Linked DNA regions of Homo sapiens: region 2 is linked to region 1. The links are contacts of gene promoters, found by promoter capture Hi-C in blood cells and fetal thymus (Javierre and others, 2016). All regions are on one chromosome and are shown on one strand. The core of a region is centred on a gene start or on the middle of the fragment in contact, and the rest is flanking DNA. Distances in the headings are between cores, read along the strand shown.

Region 1 (7,182 bases), core at 1,793-4,292:
CCATTTAATGTTTGATGAATGAATGAATGATTAAATGAGGAAAAGACTTAGCAGAAAAACAGAGTTTAAAGAGAAGGGCAAGCCCGGGTGCAGTGCCTCACACCTGTAATCCCAGCACTTTGGGAGGCCAAGGCGGGTAGATCATTTGAGGTCAGGAGTTCAAGACCAGCCTGGCCAACATGGTGACGCCCCATCTCTACTACAAATACAAAAATTAGCTGGGCGTGGTGGCGGGTGCCTGTAATCCCAGCTGCTCAAGAAGCTGAGGCAGGAAAATCACTTGAACATGGGAGGTGGAGGTTGTAGTGAGCCTGGATTGCACCACTGCACTGCAGCCTGGGTGACAGAAAGAGACTCAGCCTTAAAAAAACAAACAAACAAAAAAAAGAAGTGAAAGGCACACTTTTTTTTTTTTTTTAAGAGATGGAGTCCAGGCTGGTCTTAAACTCCTGGCCTCAAGCAATCCTCCCTCCTGGGCCTCCCAAAGTGCTGGATTACAGGCATGAGCCACTGTGCCTGGCCACATTTATTTCTTTATTCATTTTTCATGCTACTATTTAATATGCGTCTCAATGAGTGATGCTTGGTGTGACACCAGGGCTCTCAGAGGGCAGGAGCTGAGCCTCCCTTTCCTGCCCTCTCCCTAAGGGGCCAGACACTGGGCTCTGGGGGCATACCTGTGACCCACCCCACTGACTCACCCTGCAGGCTAGACCAGGAGTCAGGCAGACTCCCCTGTCACTTGTCATCTCTGGGCAAGTTCCTCTAGCACTTACCTCCTTACTTTTCCTCTGTGAAGTGGGGCGCCATCAATGCCCATTCTGCAGGGCACCCAAAGTTGAAGCCGGGACAACTGGAACAGGGTGTGGCTGTTCCCTCTGCCAGGCCACATCGGACCGTCTTGGGCCAGATTTTCCAGGGAAGAAGGGAAAGCTGGAACAGTGTCCCTAGCTTGCCTGGCAGCCAGCTAACCTGTGCCCATAGTCTGGGAGAGGTGCCAGGCCCAGACACACTGGGCAGCAGGGGGCTGGATTGGCTCCAGAGCTCCAATGCTTTGGCAGTCCTGGGGAAGGGAAGGGATGTGCTTGGCTTCAGGTCAAGAGGGTGTGGGCCACAGAAGTGACAGCTGGGGGTGGTGGAGGGCACAGCGGGCTTATGGGGGTGTGTGCGAGACCACTGTTGCAACAAGATGCTGGCAGGGACCTTCAAAAGAACATCTGCTGTTGACTGGCCTCCCCACTCCCACTCCTCCACAGGTTTTCCCATGAGTCCTAGAGGAAGCCAGGCCCCAGGCTTCTAGATAGAAAATAGAACCTACATTGGCCAAGTGTAATCCCAGTGCTTTGGAAGCCCAAGCCAGGAGGATCGCTTGAGGCTAGGACTTTGAGACCAGCCTGGGCAACATGAGGAGACCCCGTCTTTACAAAAACGAAAAAAGAGAAAATAGAACCTCAGGCCTAGAGCCAGAGTTCAGGATTGGGGATGCAGGGAAAGGAGGAGAGGGGGGCCATAACTCAAATCTCTTTCCCAAAGATAGAGTAGTTCCTGGCTGGGTGCAGTGGCTCACACCTGTAATCCCAGCACTTTGGGAGGCTGAGGCAGGCAGATCACTTGAGGTCAGGAGTTCGAAACCAGCCTGGACAACATGGTGAAACCCCTTCTCTACTAAAAATACAAAAAAATTAGCCAGGCGTGGTTGTGGGTGCCTGTAATCTCAAGCTACTTGGGAGGCTGAGGCAGGAGAATTGCTTGAACTCGGGAGGTGGAGGTTGCAGTGAGCCAAGATCGTGCTACTGCACTCCAGACTGGGCAACAGAGTGAGACTCCGTCTCAAAAAAAAAAAAAAAAAATAGGCCGGGCACGGTGGCTCACGCCTATAAGCCCAGCACTTTGGGAGGCCGAGGCGGGAGAATCAAGAGGTCAAGAGTTTGAGACCAGCCTGCTCAACATGGTGAAACCCTGTCTCTACTAAAAAATACAAAAAATTAGCCGGGCGTGGTGGTGGGCACCTGTAATCCCAGCTACTTGGGAGGATGAGGCAGGAGACTCGCTTGAACCCAGGAGGCAGAGCTGAGATAGCGCCACTGCACTCCAGCCTGGGCGACAAGAGTGAAACTCCATCTCATAAATAAATAATCAAACAAACAAACAAACATAAAAAGATAGAGGAGTTCCTTCATCCTGCAGGAAAAAGGGGTGGGTCACGCAGCATCAGAGCTGTGAACTGAGAAATCCTAGGGAAAGAAGAGGCCAGTGCCTGAGTCCCTACTGGATGATGGGAGCAAGGGGGAAGGGTGGAGGCTCCCAGACTGGAACTCTCCAGGAGGTTTTTGGCTGGGGAACAGAAGGGAGAGCAGGAGGTCCCAAGGTAATGAAATGAAGGAGGGAGTTACAACCTTCAGCAAATTCTGGGGAAGTGAAGGGATCTGAGGATGAGGACCGGATTCTGGGACAGGGATGCTGAGCTGCTAAGTCGGGAAGAGGCTGGAAGCCAGGCACGGTGGCTCACGCCTGTAATCGCAGAGCTTTGGGAGGAGGGAGGATCGCTTGAGGACAGGAGTTCAAGACCAGCCTGAGTAACATAGCAAGACCCTGTCTCTACAAAATATTTGAAAATTATTCAGGAGTAGTGGCGAGCAACTCTAGTCCCAGCCACCCAGGAGACTGAGGCGGGAGGATTGCCTGAGCTCAGGAGCTCAAGGCTGCAGTGAGCTATGATTGCACCACAGCACTCCAGCCTGGGCGACAGAGCGAGACCCTGTCTCCAAAAATAATAAATAAAAAACGAGACAGGGCTGGGGCAGAGGAGGCAGCAGGGTCTCTGGGGACCCATCCCCGGGAGCGATCACGCGTGCGGAACGTCCAGGACGAGACCCCAGGGCTTCGATCCCCACGGGGCTGCTCGTGCGGGGTGGGGCGGGGTCTGGGCGGGGTCTGGGCGGGGCCCGGGCGGGGTGGGGCGGGGCCGGGGTCCCGGGGGCCGGGGCGGGGCCGGGCTGGCGCTGCGCAGCCGCGGGGCGGCCGTCGCGCATGCGGGGCTCACACGGCTGCAGCCGGCGCCGCTGCCACTCCCGGGAGCATGAAGGACCGAACCCAGGAGCTCCGCACGGTGAGTCCGGCCCCAGCGCGCGGCCGCCCGCCGCCCGCCGCCAGCGCCAACGCGCCGGACACTTCCCGCCCGGCTCCCGCGGCCAGGATGGTGGCCGCTCCTGCGCCCCCAGCCAGGGCTGAAGGGAGCGGGGCGAGCCAGGGACCTCGACCCCCCTCCGGGTTCCGCCCCTCGGACCCACTCGGGGTCAGGCTCGCGTGAGCTCGGCCGCGCTGACACGTGGACGGTCGGCTGGAGTCCGGGGTCCTGGATAAACTTTTCGGGGCCCTCTTGATTTGGGGGGTTCGGAGGGTATGATGGGGTTTTGGTGGCGGGACCTCTTCCCCCTCCCGCAGAGCAGGCCCTTTCTCTGGCCCCCTCACTGCCCCTCATCTCTGACCTCCCGTGCCCCCTCGGTGTAGACAGACGAGGGGACCGCGGTGGGAACCTCCTTGGTGTAGACAGACGAGGGGACCGCGGTGGGCCGGTGCCGGTCCCCTGCGCGGGGCCCCGCTGCGGGGCGCGCTGCGGAAACCTGATCGTCGGGTGGTGGCGGCCTCCTCGGGCCACCCTGGTCACCTGTGGCTCCCATCACCTGTGGCTCCCCCTCTGCTTGGTCGCAGTAGGGATCCACTGCCCGCCCCAGGTATGGGGGGGGGGGCGTCACACCCGCCCCCGGTCCACCTATCCACCTTCGGGCTTTCGGGCAGCACTGGCTGGCGTTTCCAGACCCTTCAGGGTTCCTTGCGACTTGGATCTATTTTTCTACCTGTATCTGGGAAACCCCTGGGGTGTGGCTCCTGGGGCGGGGTTTGGGGGGAGTAGGAGGATGCACAAACGTTCTGAGTCAGAGCCCACCTTCTCCCAGCCCAGAGACCCCTGCAGCCTGCGTGGGTCCCCTTCCCCTGGCCTCTGCCCTTAGGGATGAGGAGCCCAGGAGGATGGTGACCGGGAGTGGAGGACAGCGACGGAAATGAAGCCTCTCTGGGTGTGTCGGGGAGGGGGGGTGGATCAAGGCTCAAGACTAGATTGAGTCTCATCTGGTCATCTGGTCCCCTGGCTGGCCACCTGGCTGGCAGCCCTGCCTGCTGATCCCTGGGAGCACCCCCCACCCCGCTCCCTGGGCTAGGAACTAGAACCCTAAGGTCCCCTCCTATGGAAAATGTCAAGTGTCCTTTGGGCATTTGACCCCACGGCTTGTCTTCTCCACCCAGAGGCTCCCTGAGTTGGAGCCTGTCTGCCCCATTATGTCATGGTTGCCTCCTGGGCATCCTGGAGCCGGGACCTGGGCTCCCCTGCCTTCATGTCCCCCACTTGCTCTGGCACCACGGCCTCCACTTTGCCTCCAGACCTGTTATTCCTGGCCGAGCGCCCAGCCCCTGGTGTAAACCCCATGAGGTTTCAAAGGAAGAAGATGGTCCCTCAAGTCGCATATGGGCTCTAAACACTTCCCCCGCGGCCCCTGTGGTTGCCCTCAAGTTTCCTGAGCTCCGTTGAGTCAGAATGAGTGTTTTCCTGGTGACGGATGGCTGTGTGGTGTAATGTGCTGATGTTTAGGCGCCTGGTAGGTTACCTGAGGGTGTGTGTGGGAACCAAGTGGTCAGGGGAACCATGGGCCCCTACATAGGATAATAGCCTCTGGCATGTCAGCCTTCATCCCCCTAGCTGAAGGGGAAACTGAGGCACAAAAGAAACACGGCTTGCCTGCTAGAGGGAGGGGTGGTAGAAAAGGGCTTTGCCTCATCCCTGAAGATAGTCAGACTCAGGCCTGGCTGACACTGGGGGACAGCCAGTGGAGCTGGGGTTGTGAAGCGTTTGAACCCAGATCTTTTTGCTCTGATGTCTGTCTCTGTTACTACCTCCTCGCCCCCTGATTAGATGGTGAAGCCAGGCTTTGCTTTGAATGGTCTGAGGCTTCCGCTCCAGACACCCCCACCCTCCCCACACAAGGCATTCAGAGCCCAGGGAGGCTGTACCCATTGCTGGGTGGCCCTGCCCAGGGAGGGCTTTCTAGCAGACAGGTGGACGGCTGGCAGGCAGGAGCCCACCCGGGGTGGGGTGAGACAGTCAGTCTTGGTGGGGCCACTGTTCCCACAGGCTGCTTTCCCTCTGGACCTAGGGTTCCCATCTGTGAAGTGGGGATGGGAAAGCCTAGAATTCAGTTTCTCGGGACGAGAAGCAGGGCTACAGGTCTCCTGACTCCAGCTCCACATTTGTAGGAGGCCTGAAGCCCCAGGAGTCAGAATTTTCAGCCCAGAATCCCCAGAAAGGAAGAGGCCAGCACTGGCTGAGCTGGACTGGGCTGGACTGGGCTGGACTGGGGCGGGCTGGGCTGGGCTGGGCTGAACAGAGATGGTGCTGGGGACAGCGGCTGTGCACCGCTCCCAGCCCTCCCTCCCTCCCTCTTCCTCCTCCTCCTCCCTCTTCTTTCTCCTTCTCCCCCACCCAACACCACCACATTTGGAAGGAGGCGAAGAGAGCTTATTTATAAAAGTCACACTTGGGGAAGGAGCTGGCGCGTTTCCTCACTCTGCAGGCCCGGCCCAGCCCTCCAGCCTTCTCCAGCCTTCTCCAGCTCCCAACTCTCCCTCTGCAGATGGGGAGTGAAGGGGGTCACTGGGGACTAGCCAGGGGGCCTCAATGCTGTCGCAGTCCCTCAGAGATCAGAAAGGCCACTTGCAGGTTACAGGTAACAAAGAGAGACCGAAGACAGGGCCAGGGTCACACAGCCAGGGAAAGACTTTTAGGTTAGAGCATCCCCAGGAGCCCCACTCAGGCTGTAGCTGCCTCCTCCCCTCAACTCAGAGACTCCCTGATTTTCTTCCTGGGGACTTTGCAGAGCTGACCTTTCTCCCTGGGCCCAGAACATGTATTTGTCTATGTGCCAGGTCATGTGGGACAGACACATGGGACCTGTTGCAGGAGGCTGAAGACGTAGCAAGGAGGGAGAGTTGGAGCAGCACAATCCTGGAAGGCTTCCTGGAAGAAGAGACCCTGGGATAGCACAGGAGCAGGAGCTGGATTTGAATAGGAGGAGAGAAGGTGATCCAAAGGAGGGGACAGCTTAGTGAAGGCAGAGAGATTGGAATGCTCAACCAGGAGAGAATAGCAGGTGGTCCTGACAGCTGGTGTCTGGGGCCCCCTGAAGTGCCTTGAGGTCTAGACTAGGGCCCAACTCACTGGAGCAGCCCAGGCAGGCCTGGATGGGAAGGCCCAGGGCCCTGCTTTGCCCATCAGTTTCCCCTTCTCTTTCGTTGCTGGGAAGAGTCTGGCGGTTGGGTGGCAACACCGGGCAGGTTCATCCTTAATCTCCCTCTGCTCATTTCCTCATCTGCAGAATGGAGCCAGTGTTACCTACTTTGCAGAGTGGCAGGCACGAGAGTGTAAGAACAGGAGCCGGACAGGGCTCGCCCGATCCTTCCTCCCATTACGTTCCAGAGGTTTCCCAGCATGAACGATGCATTTGGGTACATTTTCATCTGGGGTGCAGGTGGAACGGCCTCCCGGGACCATCTAGTTCAACCTCCTATCTTACAGATCAGAAAACAGGTCCAGAAAGGGCCAGGTGTTTATCTGAGGTCATGCAGCCTGTGGGGGCAGAGCCTGGCCCCTTCCACGGCCTGAAGCTGCCTCCCTGAGCCACTCTGGGGCCCTGTGAAGGGGCAGGCTCTGCAGGGCGGGGACCTGGTGTACACACAGCTGGAGGCTGGAGACAGGGTGAGGAGGCTCAGATTGCACAGCCGTCTTTCCTGGAGACCCAGCTTGGCCTCTCGCACACCCCTGACTCAGCTCCGGGCCTCTCTGCACTAGTGATATTGACTTTGATTAGTCATTTAAAAGAAGAAGGGAAAAAAATAGCCCTCGAGGCAGACAACAGCCACTGTGCTCAGCAGTGATGAATCAACCTTGCCAGCCTGGTGGCTTCCCCTGGGACACGCCTGGAGGCTGCCTGGCCTCTGCGCCTCTTGGAGGAGTCAGACTATTACATCCAGGAAGGTGTCCTGGAATCCTGGAGTCTCTGCTAGGAGAGACCACCAGGGCTGCCCCACCTCTGCCAGGGGAAGCTCAGGGCATCCAGCTCCCCGTGGTTCCAG
Region 2 (7,182 bases), core at 4,565-7,064, 75 kb after region 1:
ACACACACACACACACACACACACGCTGACTCTGGGTCCTGGCGCTGGCCATGAACAGGTGTCTGTCCAAGGTAGCAGACTGAAGCCTACTAGTAGGAGGTCACGTGACAAGAAACTCATGCAAGACAGGAAACAGTGGGCAGAGAAGGCCAAGCTGACCCACCAGGACGTATGAGGCAGGTGGAAGAAGCAGGAGGTGTCTTCATCTGCTTCCTTCTCAAGATGCACCCTTCCACCACCACCGCCCACCCTCAGGCAGAGTGAATTCCAAATGGGGTGTGGGGCTGGGCGCAGTGGCTCACACCTGTAATCCCAGCACTTTGGGAGGCCGAGGCAGGCAGATCACTTGAGGCCAGGAGTTTGAGACCAGCCTGGCCAACATGGCAAAACCCCATCTTTACTAAAAGTACAAAAAAACTGGCCGGGCGTGGTGGCATGCACCTGTAGTCCCAACTATTTGAGAGGCTGAGGCAGGAGAATCACTTGAACCCAGGAGGCGGAGGTTGCGGTGAGCTGAGATTGCACCATTGCACTCCAGCCTGGGTGACAGAGCGAGACCTTGTCTCAAAACAAATAAATGGTGTGTGGGCAGAATCTGATCAACTCAGGGTCTCTTCTGGGCTCGGGCTCAGCCTCATCCTCCGGCATGCCCCCGGCCTTCCCCCTGCGCTCTACCTCCTGCCATCACCAGGGGACTCTGAGGGGCATTATTGGCAGGATCCCTTCTGCCTCTGCTGCCCCCCGCTAGCCGTAGAAGGAAGGAAGCCCGTGGGGCTGGGAGGAAGCTGCCTCATTGCTGGGTAGGGTGGCTGTGAAAGCCCTTTCTTCTTTCCATCCCACACTGCCCGCTCCTGGCCGAGCGGTGGCCAGGGGGATCCTTCCTTCTACCCCACACGGCCCCTTGAAGCTGGCAGGCAAGCTGAGGTCCTGAATGCCCCCTTCCCAGGTGGTGCCTACTCCACAGGACCTCTGAGGACTTGGAGGCATCCATCCTGGACTTTGAAACTGATACCACCGCTGGCCTATCCCGCTCTCTCACTGGGCTGCTACGCCAAGGGTGTTTAAGGATGTTTGTGGAGTAAATGTAAGAGTCTGGGCCAGGCCCAGTGGCTTGCACCTGTAATCCCAGCACTTTGGGAGGTCGAGGTGGGAGGATTGCTTAAGACCAGGAGATAGAGACCAACGTGGGCAACATAGTGAGAACCCATTGCTTAAAAAAAAAGAGTTGAGAGGACACAGCACTAAGAGCAAGAGAGGGGAAGTCAGTGGGCCCCGGAAGGCAGGAAGGGCCTCAGGGAGGGGTGAGGAATGGGGGCTCAGGGAGGGGAGTGGGGTTTAGGGAGGGGATGTGATGTCAAGGGCAGGGAGGGTGGGGGCTTGAGGGGGGACTCAGAGGGAGCATGGGATGAAGCTGGTCAAAGAGGGAATGAATGGGGCTCAGTGAGCCAGATGAGAGAGAGACAGGAGATAGACAGTGAGAGAGAGAGAGAGACAGAGACAGAGGGAGAGACAGAGAGGGAGAGGAGAGGAAGAGAGAGGGGGGGAAAGGAGGGGGAGAGACAGAGTGAGAGACAGAGAGAAGGAAAGAGAGAAGAGAAAGGGAGAGAGAAGGGGGAGAGGGAGTGAGAGAGGGAAAGAGAGAAAGGCAAGGGGGGAGAATGAGAGAGAGAGAGAGGAGAGAGAGGGAGAGAGAGAAAGAGGAGGGGGTAGAGACAGAGAGAAAGTGAGAGAGAGAGAGGAGAGAGAGAGGGAGAGAGACAGAGTGAGAGAGAGAGGAGAGAGAGGGAAAGGGGGGAGAATGAGAGAGAAAGAGAGAGGGGGGAGAAAGAGAGGAGGGGGGAGAGAGAGAAAGTCAGAAAGTGAGAGAGAGAGGAGAGAGAGGGAGAGAGACAGAGTGAGAGACAGAGAGAGGAGAGAGATGGAAAGAGAGGGAGGAGAATGAGAGAGAGAGGGGGGAGAGAGGGAGAGAGAAAAAGAGAAGAGAAAGGAGAGAGAGAGGAGGGGATAGAGAGAAAGTAAAGGAGAGAGAGAGGAGGGTGGGAGAGAGAGAGGAGAGCCAGGGTCAGAGGGAAAGAGAGAAGACAGAGGGAGAGAGACGGGGCAGGGAGAGACAAGGGACAGAGAGACAGTGTGAGAGAGAGAGAGAAAGAAAGAGGAGGGGGAGAATGAGAGAGAGAGAGGAGAGAGGGGGGAGAGTGAAAAAGGAGGGGAATAGAGAGAGAAAGAGAAAGTGAGAGAGATAGAGGAGAGAGACAGAGTGAGAGACAGAGAGAGAGGAGAGAGAGAGGGAAAGAGAGGAAGGGGGAGAATGAGAGAGATGAGAGAAGGGGGAGAGAGAAGAGGGGGTAGAGAGAAAGTGAGGGGAGAGGGAGAGAGGAGCCTGGAGGAGAGAAGAGAGAGGGAGAGGAAAGGGAGGGGGAGAGAGAGAAAGAGAGAAAGCGGGGAGAGAAGAGAGTAAGAGTGAGGGATGAGAGTGAGAGAGAGTGCTGGGGGGACTCAGGGACTAGGAGGAGGTTCAAAGCCGGGCTGGGGCTCTGGGAGGAGCCCGAGGCGGTCCCAGCGTCTTTCTCTGCCCACCTGGGGTGGCCCCACACCTGCGGCTCCTCCCTCCCCGAGCCCAGCCCGCGGCTGGGGGCCGGGCACCGAGCCCCCGGGGAAAGTAGAGGGGGTTAAAGGTGAGCGGGCACGAGCCGGCGGCAGACGGGGATTGGCAGGCGCCCGAGCCCAGGGCCCGGGCCATGGCTGCCCCACAGGCCTCTGAGCGGCTGAGCGGCTGCCGCCCACGTGCTAAGGAGAGAAGGAGGCACCAGATCAAGGGGCAAAGGACACCTCGGAGCGGGGCGGGGGTGCCCGCGTCCACACCCGCTGCTAAAAGCCGGGCCCGCGGCGCAGCGCACGGAGCCCTCTGCCGCCCGCGCGGAGAAGGCGCCGGGCGCGGTCCGGCGGTCCCAAGCATCCCCGCAGCGCCCCCGCCGCCCGCCGCCCGCCCCTGGCCGCGCCGCGCCCCTCTGCAGGTCGAGCGGATTCCAGGTGAGGGCGTGGAGCCCCCGCGTCATCAGGTGGGTGCAGGGGCCTCACCCAAGGGGAATTGGATCCGCCTCTGTGCTGGGCCTCAGTTTCCCCTCTGCCCATAGAGGCGCGCGTCTCTGGCTCAGCTGGGTTGAAGGGGTTCATAGGCTTATGTGGCCTCCTCGCTCAGCCTCAGCTGCCAGGAGGAAGGAGGCAAACTCGTACCCCAGGGAGGACTCCGGATCAGGAATCCAAGAATTCATCCTGCTAGAAGGTGAAGTGCACACGGGTCCTGGAAGCCCCGTGTCTCCCACTGGCTGGACTGGGCTGGGCTTCCATCCTGGTCTGGGAGGTTCTCCCAGGAGCTGAGAGGGGGCCCAGGGAGTCAGGAGGGAGGGCCTTCCTCCCTCTGGCTCTCCCTGCCCTGGGCAGGTGACATGCCAGTGGAGAAACCCTGTCCAGGTGGGCCCTGGGATGAGGAGGACCAAAACTGCCCCTGGCTGGGACAGAAAGAAGGGAGATGGCAGGGTGGGGTATGTGGATTCTGGCCCCTAGGCTTCTAGCCAACAGGTGGGGGCCACAGAAGTGGTGGCCGGCACTCCTGCTGCTCTGCCCAGGGGGGAAAGCCAGGGCTTCCTCCCAGCCACCCTGCCCCCACCTCTGGGCTGGGTTTGGGAGCTTTGGGTTCTTGTCTGTGTCTGACTGTGTGACCTTGGGCGCACGACTTTCCGTCTCTGGGCCTGGCTCTCCCTCCGTGACATGGGAAGGTTTACTGTTCCTGGGCCACTCGTGTGGAGATGGGGACAGAGTAAAACGGAACACCAGGTTGCTTTGGGGGACAGTGTGGCCCACTCCAACCAAGTCCCTCTGGGCCTTCACAAGGGGGATGGTGTTACAGGGTCAGCTGAGTCAGGAAGTCAGGGGGACCAGGGATCTATGAGAGCTGAGCTGGTCCCCACTTTGCCCAAGAACTTATCTTACACTCAGCAACTCCCCTGCCCCATGTCCTGCCCAGGCCCTCAGATGCAGGAGAAGTCTCAGAATACAGGTCTGGGAATCTCAGGTCCGCCCCAGGGAAGCTCAGCTCCTCAGCCTAGGGTAGCTTCTGGGAGAGGAGGAAGATTCTGTAATACCAGAAGAGGTCTGAGCTGTAGTAGCCAGGAGTTTCCCCATCTTGAGAAGATGACCCATCTCACTTCTCCCTAATTGCCCCCTAAGGACACAGTCTGCTGGCTGAGCCAGGCCAGGGCTCAGTTTAGAATCAGGGTTGGGGCTCAGGCTGGGGTTGGGACTCAGCCTGGGGACCACATGGGAGGGCAGCTCAGAGCCAGGGTCCAGGAAGCATCCGCCTGGTGTCTTGGAATCCTGTGATTGAAATCCTCTGGCCGATATAGGGGTGGCACTGGTGGAGATGATGTTTGTCAGCTGAAGTGGAGGGCTGGCATATGAGCTTCTGCAGGCTGTAGAGTGGGATGGAAGAGTGGACTGGAAGCGTGGAAGTGGGAGAGGTCATGTCTCCGAGGCTCCTGCAGCCACACTTGCCCAGAGTCTCTAGTGCCTTCAGGCAATGGCCCTCCCTGGGTACCCTCCCCGGGGCTGTCTTTGGCCCTGCTGCCAGCCCTGTGGTGGCTAAATGCAAGCTTAGACATGTGTTGGGTTTGTCAGGGGCTGGGAGAGGCCATCATTAGTGCAGTCCTCACTCTCTGGTTAGGGCCAAAGAAAAAGTTTTGGCTACAGATGTGGGGCAGAGGAGGGAAGAGAGAGGGGACGTGCAGGCTTAGGATTGCTGTTCAGATAGGAGAAGAGGAAGAGGAACTGGGGTTTGCTATGCATTTACTGCAAGCCAGGCACTGCACAAGCTTTTCTGGCACTGTTTCCTTCTTCCTGATAACCAGAGAAGGAAAAGATCTCCATTTTACAGATGAGGAAACAGGCTCAGAGAGGTCAAGGCTCTGGCTCAAGGTCACACAGCCTGGGAACGGCAAAGCTGATATTCAAACCCAAGCATCTTGGCTCCAAAGCCCTGGTTTCTGTTCCCACTACTGTCAGTGACCTTGGCAAGCCCTGTCCTCCTCCGGGCTTCACTCTGCACACCTGTAACCTGGGGTTAAATGGGCTCGCCTGGACTGTTGAGCAGAGCTGGGAGGAGGTCTGGAAGCAACATGGGTGGTGCATTCTCTGCATTCAGGGAGAAACACACAAGAGGGGATTACATTGGCTGACCCCCAACCTCCCAGGTCAGCTCATGGGTGTCCATGTGTCCTGCGCCCACCTCACCCACCTCCACCCCCTCCCCACCCATCTTTCTCACTCCTGAAACTTAGGGGCAAGGTGGCTCTGTCTCTCCTCTTTGAAGTTAGCTAAGCTGACCTTGGAGAAGGGGGCCCCCAACAAGGGAAGAGTGAACAGAATATTCCCAGGGTAGGTCCTGGCACTGATAAATAAGAGACAGACAACTACTGCCCTAGGGCCAGAGGCAGTGGCTCAAGCCTGTAATCTCAACACTTTGGGAGGCCAAAGTGGGAGGGTTGCTTGAGGCCAGGAGTTCAAGACCAGCCTGGACAGCATAGAAAGATCTGTGTCTCTGCAACAAATTAAAAAATTAGCCAGGTGTGGTGGCACAGGCATATAGTCATAGCTACTCAGGAGGCTGACACAGGACGATCACTTGAGACCAGGAGTTTGAGGCTGCAGTGAGCTATGATGTCACCACTGCATTCCAGCCTGGGCAACAGAGCAAGAACCCCTCTCTTAAAAAAAAAAAAATGCTCTACCCAGAATCCCAGGCCACCCCCTGCTAGCTGGCTTGGGTAGTCACAAAAGTTCTTGTCCCATATTCAGCCCCATTAGCAGTGTGACTTTGGGCGAGAGATATGCTTCCTGGGATCCACTTTCTATCTCAGTCCAGGGGCCTGATGCCCTGATGGGGCCGGCATGGGGCCAGTTATCCAGCAGGGGAGAGGCCAGGAGATTCTGGGCAGAGCAGATGACTGTCACCTGCTGCAACAGTCTGAGAAGCGTTTTCCATCCCTGAGTCCCCTGGAGGAGATTGTCGCCCTATCTTCTTTGTCCTACAGCTCCTGGTTCTCTGACATTGTAATCAGAGATGTCGACCAGGAAGGAAGGAAAGAAGAAAGGGCGGGCTGGGGGGAGGAAAAGAGGGACAGAAGAAGAAAACCCACATTTACCAGGTACCACTGGCTCTCACTTACATATTTCATTTCATCTTTGCAACAACTGCACAATAACATCACATAGTCATAGCCATTTTAAAGATGAGAAAACCGGCAAGGCACAGTGGCTCGTGTCTGCAATTTTAACACTTTGGGAGGCTGAGACGGGTGGATCGTCTGAGGTCAGGAGTTCAAGACCAGCCTGGCCAACATGGCAAAACCCTGTCTCTACTAAAAATACAAAAATTAGCCGGGCATGTTGGCGGGCACCTGTAATCCCAGCTACTTGGGAGGTCCTAAGGCAGGAGAATCACTTGAAGCCTGGGGGTGGAGGTTGCAGTGAGCCGAGATCAAGCCACTTCACTCCAGCCTGGGAGAAAGAGCTAAACTCAGCTTCAAAAAAAAAAAAGACAAAACCAGTCCTCAGCCAGGTGCAGTGGCTCACATCTGTAATATCAGAGCTTTGGGAGGCCAAGGCAGGAGGATTGCTTGAGACCAGAAGTTTGGGACCAGTCTGGGCAGCCTAGTGAGACCCTGTCTCTACAAAAAAATTAGCCAAGCATGGTGGCACAAGCTTATAGTCCCAGCCACTCAGGAGGCTGAGGCAGAAGGATTGCTTGAGCCCAGGACTTTGAGACCAGCCTGGGCAACATAGTGAGACCCCCCATCTATATAAAAATTTTTAAAAATTAGCCAGGGGTGGTGATGCACACCTGTAGTCCCAGCTACTTGGGAGGCTGAGGCGGGAGGATCACTTGAGCCAGGAGTTCAAAGTTGCAGTGAGCCATGGTGGTGCCGCTGCACTGAAGTCTAAGCAAAAGAGCAACACCTTGCCTCCAAAAAATAAAATAAAGTGTCTACTATGTGCCAGCTGTCCCCTCTGTCCTAGTACCTGCTGATTAGCTCAGTCTTGGGTGGATTTACCTGACACATGATGTTTGCAAGGAGGCCTAAGGGACGGGTCATCCTTCAGTTCCACCAAGCAGCCCAGCAGAAAGAC

The links. The method cuts DNA at HindIII sites, captures the fragments that hold promoters and counts their contacts. A CHiCAGO score of 5 or more calls a contact.
Region 2: a contact is called between a fragment that was not itself captured here and the fragment with the promoter of STX1A in region 1, in 5 of 17 cell types (total CD8 T cells, erythroblasts, total CD4 T cells and 2 more). The highest score is 6.2, in total CD8 T cells.

The regions. Positions count from the first base shown.
Region 1 is chr7:73,715,529-73,722,710 of GRCh38, reverse strand. It overlaps STX1A (syntaxin 1A), which reads left to right and starts at 3,042. Exons shown (of 10, transcript NM_004603.4): 1 at 3,042-3,109. The coding sequence starts at 3,080. RefSeq lists silencers at 2,927-3,126, 3,187-3,386, 3,397-3,456, 3,567-3,646 and an enhancer at 6,733-7,182. The HindIII fragment of the contact is 14,118 bases long and covers 1-7,182 here.
Region 2 is chr7:73,643,623-73,650,804 of GRCh38, reverse strand. It overlaps a transcript of MLXIPL not described here. Among named protein-coding and RNA genes, the nearest start is that of VPS37D, 21 kb to the left of the region's middle. RefSeq lists silencers at 2,575-2,624, 2,665-2,734. The HindIII fragment of the contact is 1,888 bases long and covers 4,871-6,758 here.